Regions from separate parts of the Homo sapiens genome. Here region 1 is linked to region 2. Evidence: promoter capture Hi-C in human tissues and cell types (Jung and others, 2019). All regions are on one chromosome and are shown on one strand. Each heading gives the region's core, a stretch centred on a gene start or on the middle of the fragment in contact. The rest is flanking DNA. Distances are from core to core; before and after follow the strand shown.

What was found. Contacts are between HindIII fragments. The study calls those that stand out against the background at their distance.
Region 1: a fragment that was not itself captured here is called in contact with the fragment with the promoter of DGKG in region 2 in 1 of the 25 tissues and cell types used here (thymus).

What each region holds. Positions count from the first base shown.
Region 1 is chr3:186,553,151-186,557,489 of GRCh38, forward strand. It overlaps TBCCD1 (TBCC domain containing 1), which reads right to left. Exons shown (of 8, transcript NM_018138.5): 4 at 3,259-3,625; 5 at 1,748-1,934; 6 at 1,104-1,601. Among named protein-coding and RNA genes, the nearest start is that of CRYGS, 11 kb to the left of the region's middle. RefSeq lists an enhancer at 1-260. The HindIII fragment of the contact is 6,724 bases long and covers 1-4,339 here.
Region 2 is chr3:186,360,045-186,363,852 of GRCh38, forward strand. DGKG (diacylglycerol kinase gamma) reads right to left here and starts at 2,190. Exons shown (of 25, transcript NM_001346.3): 1 at 1,902-2,190. RefSeq lists an enhancer at 958-1,475 and a silencer at 2,260-2,349. The HindIII fragment of the contact is 4,334 bases long and covers 1-3,808 here.

The DNA.
Region 1 (4,339 bases), core at 1,182-3,681, 190 kb after region 2:
TCACCACTTGAAAACACTGACTCAGAGTCAGCATTTATTAAGTGCTTACATCCCACAGTCTGCACATGTATATGCAGGAGCTTTTCACATGTAAGAGAATCTAAGCACTTCATCGTTTCTTGGCCTTTTGGCTGAGATCAAGTGTAGAGAATCTAACCATTTAAATACTAGAACCATTCAAACAACAGAACTGCTTTAAAAGAATGTTTTTTCATGATCATCCATTTTTACAACACATTATTATAATGTTATTATTGTACAGTATGATATGGTATGACAATATTTGAAAGAAAACAATGAAGACATTAGAGGCATTTAAGAACCTCTGGTTACTGAGAAGTCAGAACAGAGAAAAAAAAAGAACCTCTGGAACCAGGTTGATTAGGTGTGAATCCTGGCTCCTGTGTGACTTTGGGTAAAGTACTTAATTCCTCAGTTCTTCGGTTTCCTCACCTGTAATAAGGTGTTATTACAAAGAATAAATGAGTTAGCACATAGAAGGTGCCTAGAATGGTATTGGATTATGTGGCATACTCTATGTATGATTTTTTAAATTCATGTAAGTCTTATATTTGCCAACTAAACTTTAGCTTCTTAAGAAAAGGGAGTCTAATACTGGATATTTACCCACTCCCATCCCCAACCTAACAGTGTTTGAAATACTAATTTGAAATCCAAACCTTAATTTAAAAACACATTACTTTTTTTTTTTTTGAGACACAGTTTCACTCTTGTTGCCCAGGCCGGAGTGCAATGGCACGATCTTGGCTCACTGCAACCTCCGCCTCCTGGGTTCAAGCAATTCTCCTGCCTCAGCCTCCCACGTAGATGGAATTACAGGCACACGCCACCACACCCAGCTAATTTTTGTATTTTTAGTAGAGACGGGGTTTCACCATGTTGGCTAGGCTGGTCTCAAACTCCTGACCTCAGGTGATCCACCCACCTCGGCCTCCCAAAGTGCTGGGATTATAGGCGTGAGCCACCGCGCCCAGCCTTACATTTTTTATTACTTTAGCACAGCTGTAAAAATGTGCAGACTAATTTGTTTCTCCATGGAGTTTCACAAAAAACACAAACTGTTACTTGTAAAAAATACTCACTTTGTCAAATGAGCCTCCTTCACAGTTTTCTGCCAGATCTGTATCTTCTGTTCTCTTTGACCCAGTGCTTTCTGATATACAGATGGAAGACCCCCGGGTATCTCTGTTGTGTCCCCTTCCATTTCAAAGGGAATAATAAATACATAGAATTCACAAGGTGGTAAAAGCTGGAAGACTCTTGTGTCGCTGTTCTCTCTGCACACAACCATTGGATTATCCCAATAGTTAGGCACTGTAGCAAGGCCAGTCCTGGCCATATGGTCCTCTAGCATTGGGTAATGTGTATGAAAAGGGGCAAAAGTTACTGTCTGGTTCCCAGAGAGAATAAGTGGGCGTGTAGGCGTAAGAACGTGAAAGATGCAACCTGTTGTAGAAGAGATGGACAAACGATGGCAAACAGCAATGACTTTAACATTGTCACAACTGTGGAGGTGAAGTGTAGTCCCTACAGGGCCCAAGACAAAGATGCTATTCCTGCACTTCTCAATTGTCACAGATCTGAAAAAAGGAAAAAATGAGGTAAAGTCCTCTGAATAAGATTTTAAAAATTTGACTAAAATATTATTATCTGATGGCAAAAAAAGAATCAGTCACAGTCCAAAGAAAATGTCAGAACATCAGAACACCATGAAAACTGTGCTTACCGTAAGGGAGAGAGCAGATATATAAAAGATTCGTTGCAACGATGAATCTTTACATGTGCCCCCGCCAGAGTGTCTGAGCTCTTAGCCAGTGTCTGCTTGTAAACCTGGCTCATCACTACCAGTCGGTGCATCCTAGGGGCCACATGAGTATTACAAGCAATCTTAGCTCTTTTGGTGGTCCCTTCAACTATTTAAGAAAACATATAAATAGATGAGGCAGTATCAAATCAAAGAAAAACAAACAAACATATGAGGTTACACGTCTACATGTATATATGTCTCAAATTAGATACCACATGTAGGGACAAAAACGTTAGATCTGGGCTTTGGATAGAGGTATTTGCTATACTATTCTCTATTCCTTTCTGTATGTTTGGAATTTTCATTTTTGTTATAAAAAAAATTTTAAAACCTATAATGAATTTAAGATTGCCTATAAGTCTAAGATACTTTTTCGTGTCTACGCTTCAAGTTAAGGTCTATGCCTAAGGTCATATGGCTAGTAAGTGGCAAAGCTGTCCTAACTCAAATATCTTCTCCTCCAAGATGCTTTACTTTATCATCCCAAACGTAATTCACCTCTCTAAATTACCATAATATTAATTCTGTACCCTTCCTAACTTACCACATTATCCCATTAATCCTATTTGAGTTCATGCCTTTTTTTCTTCTTTTTTGTGAGACGGAGTCTCACTCTGTCACTCAGGCTGGAGTGCAGTGGTGCAATCTCAGTTCACTGTAACCTCCACCTCCCAGGTTCAAGAGATTCTCCTGCCTCAGCGTCCTGAGGAGCTGAGATTACCAGTGCATGCCACCACGCCTGGCTAATTTTTGTATTTTTAGTAGAGCTGAGGTTTCTCCATGTTGGCCAGGCTGGTCTCGAACTCCTCACCTTCCGCCAACCTCAGCCTCCCAAATTGCTGGGATTACAGGTGTGAGCCACCGCACCCAGCCTGAGTTCATGTCTTTACTCCTAAGATCATTACTACCTGAGAGCACATCTTCCTATCCCACACAGTGTGTTGCACAAACTGACACTCAAAAAATACGCGCAGGTTCTCCTAACACAGTCACACCGTTACGTGACTGCCTTCTCAGACTGTACCTCCCTGCAAGCCACCGGGACACCCTTGTAAACAACACCGCTGAAATACTGGGAGGTCACATGAGTATGCTATTATTCTTCTTCTTTTAAAACATTTCTTGTTTATTTTTATTACATACGTTTACTTTTATTACACATGTACCAGGTACATAATATATGGTTATTTAGAAAAATAACAGTAAAAGAAGATAAAAATAATTTGTAATCCTACTATCATTTTTAATATTTTAGTATAATCCTTGAGAGAAAAAGTCATGCACAAAAGACAGATGTTCCTTTTTCTCTTTTATAGGAGCAGTATTTTTTAGGTCTTCTAGAGAAGACACGAGATCACTAATATATTAGAAAACACTAGGTTCCTTAAGTTGTCATTCAATTTAATGTAGATTAAAATATTAAAAAATACCTTGATGAGCCCAAGCCAATTTCTTTCCAGACTTGAGGCAAGCTGATGTACCAAATGGATTCCCAGTCAAACAGGACCTCAACCAGGTTTCCAGTTTGTAGAAAGAGAAAGTCTTAGAGATCTTTGAGAAGCCACTATCTGCATGCAGTGGTTGCCACAGTGCAAGTTCATGAAGTGGATAGATCTTCCTGGCTCTACTTATTGTACCTTCAATAAGGAAGCTGAGCGCCACAACAGCTTCTCGAGACACTAGACTACTATGGGTTGAATGAAATGATGCAGTGAGTTGTTTTGGATCTAAAAGCAGCTCGAGGAGATCAGACAGATGATCATAGACAAAAGCTTGGTGACTGTAATCATTCCAGTTCTAAAAAAAAGTTAAAAGAAAGCACTCTTAATAAAGAGATTCCACAAGATCTAAAATTTCTATATTTTAATTATTTTGTATTTATACTCTGCCTCATCCCCCAAAAGGAATTAGGTAGTTATATAAACCTTATAAAGGTGATCCGCCCGGCTTGGCCTCAGAATTTCTAATCCCTTAGAATTCCAGTTCATTAACAAGCATGATGGCTATTCCAGTCCCAATGTCAAATGCGTTTTTAGTTCAAACACCTATCACCAATGCATAATTTCTTCCTGGGGGAACTGACTGGCCCAGGTCGTCACTTTAAATCTGGCCAATTTCAAATGTATAGCAATAAATGGGCTACTCAAGTGTCCACCCCGGTCCAATCAGTTACTCAGAGAGGTCGTGCTGTAGTATAAACCAAAGTCACCATTTATTGGTGCTTACTATGCAATAAGTCCCATGCTAATATATTACTGAAGTCTCATAGTCATTCAGAAACATGCATTATTATCCTCACTTACAGAAGGGAAGCCAAGGCCTAGAGAAGTTAACTGACTTGCCTAAAATCGTATGACTAAATGATAATAAATGATAGAGGCAGAAATGAATGGAGGCTACCTTGGCTCAAAACACCATCTCCTAACAGTGCCCATTCTGCAGGAACTACATGTGGAGAGAGAGGTAGTGACTGGTATCTCTCATACATCTGGGCTTGAACATTCTGAATTT
Region 2 (3,808 bases), core at 940-3,439:
TTGCTGGCTTCTGGGTTCTTTCCTCGCAGAGGCTCACACATGCACAGCCTGGGCCTCTGGGAGTGTCCGGGTTGGAGGGATCCTCACCATCTGTTGATGGTGTTGTGTGGGGAGTTGGAGCAGTTGGGGGAGCTGGAACAGATGATCTTAGTAGTTACTCCCATCTCTGAGAGTCTAGATTTCAAGACACGCTGATGTTTGTCGTTTTCTCCCCATGTCTCGGTTGATCTGAACCAACCACTCCATAAAATTCTAAGGTAGGAAAGACTCATCTACTAGCTTCCCACCCTAAAGCCCCTCCCAGAAAAATACCTGTAGTAATGCCTATAGTGCTGGGTGTAAACGTTAAGGGTGATTGGCAAAAAAGACATAGATCAGGAGTACGACCGGGAAGTTGGCTTAGTTGCAGCCGTTTTATTTAAGGAGTATAATTCATATTCGGAATGGAATCTCCAGCAAATGTAGTCTTTTAATATGACAAACAGTTAAGTACCTTCCCATGTTAGACACATGCCTGGAATGAGAGTGAGAGGGACATAAAATATAAAGGGGTGTGTGTCTGTGCCTGGGTTCATGACCAAACCTCGACATTTGCCCTCTATGATCTAATTTCCTTCATTGACAACCAGGGTGCCCTGTGTGCCAGCAAGTGGCTCTGCCAGCTGTATTTTACAGACAGAGAATCCCAAGCACCAAAATAACAAAGTTGATTCCCCCATCCAGACCAGAGGGGTCGTTTCCAGTCCTGTGTCCTGACCACTGTCTCTCATCATGACCCCTGGTGTTCACCTCCAGATCCAAAGTGTCGTCGCCAAGCCCCCAAAATAAAGGAATGACAAACAGCCCTCCCAGGCCCTCCTCCCCACAGAGAGGTCATCGTATGCTAATGAAGTCCGAGGAGGCAGCGGCGCAGCGCGGGAGAGCGCGCCCACGGGTTCACAGCGCTCCCGGGCACCACTGCGGCGCAGCCACAGATCGCTTCGCGCTGCAGCAGACGCTCCCGCCGCGGGGGGCGACTGGGGGAGGGGTCTCGACCGCCACCCTGAGTTCCGCAGCTCATCCCTCCCATCTGGGAGGTGGTTCTAGCTCTAGTCCCAAGCTTTCCACTGCAGTGATGGTGGGGATGGGGGCAGCACGTCAAATCACCTGTAGGGCTTTTTAGAACTCCACAGCCCCCTCCCCTAATTCTATTCCACTAGTTCAAACGAAGAAAATCTCAGACTAGGCAAGGGGAGGTGGACCGGTGGAGTCTGCGAAAGCACCACAGGTGACTCCGGGTACGCACTCCTCAGGACACAAGCACACACACGGACACATCTTGTGACTCTGAGACTACACAGATCAACCTCAGATTCGACCCTTCCCTCCTTTATTCTCTGAGGTGTCCGTGTTCGCTTCAGCTTCCCTTTAAGTCGCCCTGCGCAGGGGCTTTGTGGAGTGCCCCCAAAGTCCTAGAACCCCGCGGGACGGTCGGAGGCTTTGGCGGCCAGACATTAGGAAAAGCATCTCCTGCTTCTCGGACTGCCTGGAGCGCGAACTGGATATCAAGGAGCCAAGGTTAAGTCCAGAAGAAGAAGGAAATCCGACCAGTTGCTTTAGCAAACTGCCTGGAGCAAGGCCGCCTCCCACCCGCACAGCTTTGAGGCTTGAGGGGGCCTCTCAGTCGCAGAGAGAGCCGAGCCCCACCCTGTGCGTTCCCCAAGCCTGCACCCCTCGAGCGGGGCATCCCTTCCTGCAGGGCTTTGTGGCAGGTGGAACTGTCGGGGTGGGCGCCGTGGCTTTGGCTGCAGCCCCTTCCCTGGCCGCGGGACCGGCTCCCGCTTTGCCCTCCTTTACCAAGTTGCTGCACCGGGTGCTCCCTGAGCCGGGGACCCCCTCCGCCGCGCCGGCCGCCGTCTTACCTCACCAGGCAACACTTGGTTGCGCGGTGGCCCGGGGCGCTCCTTCTTCGCGGTTTATTCCCTTACTTGGGAGGAAAGAGGAACCGAGAGACAGAAGGGGGACCGAAGCTGGCCTCTGGGCGTCTTCCCGCCTGCGCAGCCCTCTCGGGGGAGGGGGATGCAGCCCCAGTGGGTGCCGCGGAGACCAGGCTGCCAGGCTGTGGTTGGTAGCGCCGGGGTCTTCACCCTGTGCTCGGAGTTCAGCAGCTCCAAAGCTGTCTATCTCCGTGGCCCGCTACTACGGCACTGCGGCTCTGTGCCCTGCCCCTCGCAGCCTGGCAAGTCCAGCTGCCACTCTCACTGCGGAGCCCTGCCCCCGGGCGCAGAGCCCGCCCCCGCCACACACACCGGCGCGCGCGCGTACACACACGGCACACACAGACACGCGCTTCCACACATGCACACGCGTGCGCACACACGAATGTGGATCCGCTCGATGGGAACCTGACCCCCTTTGGTGCAACTAGGGCGCGGGCATCATTAGGACGCTTTTTACTGACAGGGCTTCGGTTTGGGAGGAGGAGTTACAGGCTTAGGAGTGTGGAGAGGATGCAACAGTGGTGGGTACCAGAGGGCCCCTGACCCCGGAGGCAAAGGACAACTGTTTGACAAATAAATACCGACTGGGCGTTTCCTTTTCTCAACTCTGGTCAAGGCTACCGTAATATCCCGACCAAATCGAAGAAAAAATAAAAATACAAAATCAACAAGTTCTCTTTGTTTCCCAGGAACTCAGTATCTCTAGGATCCAAATCACTAGCCCTGTCCAGAGGGTCATTTCTGACAACCTTGACTTCGGTGGCAGTGGATTGGTGGCAGTTCAACTCGAAAAGGTTTTCCCCTCGTAGCCTGGTGGAGACTGGCACAGCCTGCCTGAGCTGGACTCTGTTGGATGGGTCGGGTCTCTGGGTGTGTTTAATTCCCATTCTCCTTTGCTTTTAGGTGACCTTGGACTGTATTCCTGCAGAATAAATAGATCTCTTCTTTTTTTAAAATGTAGAAGAGCACAGAAAAGACGCTGGGGTGAGGGGTCGGGGGGAATAGGGGAGCTACATTAGCCAAGGCACTATGACTTGTTGCTTCTCTTTCCATGACGTGCATGTCCACGTGAGGGGGTGATGGTGGTGGTGACACTATTTCAGGCATGTCACACAGCAAGATGACTGCTGTCCATTTCACACCACATTTAGAGTCATTAGGAGTTTAGACTGTCATCTTTAAAATATGTGGAGTTTACTCATTTCCACAGCCGAGAATTCTTTTCTGCCAGTGGGCAGTGAAGGTCCCCGGGCCAGCACTGCAGCCAAGAAAAGCTTTCCGCAGAGTGTGGAGGCGCCGAGGGGCTCTGGGTGTCTGTGCATTTGGGGAAGAAGCCTCAAACACGAATGTCAAACAGCCCTGAGGACCCTGTTGGGTGGTGTCCATACTAGGCTATCTGCAGGCAGGCTGGTGAGACAGATGAGAAACAGAGCTGAGAGATCTCCTTAAGATTCCACACAGTGATGAAGACAGAGCTGATACCAGAACCCCGTGTTTGCGACTCCTCTTATCCTCTGGGTCTTATCCATTCTATCACCCTGGGTGGCTTCTCAAAGTTTCCTTCAGCTAGGCTGAAATAATCTTGGTGAGGGTGCCTTCAAAGTTCTTCCTTGTCCTTTCTTTTTTTCCTCTTCAGTCACTGACTCATTCATTTTACAGCTATTTATTAAACTCCTACTCTGTCTTCAGGTGCTTCCCCGTAACTCCAGTCCTGGGCCTTACTTGGGAGGAAAGAAGAACTGAGAGACAGAAAGGGCTTAGAACTGTCCTCATCCCTGGAAGAGAGGAGCCCTGAGCACAGGTTTCTGGTATATATTTTCACTCTGCTA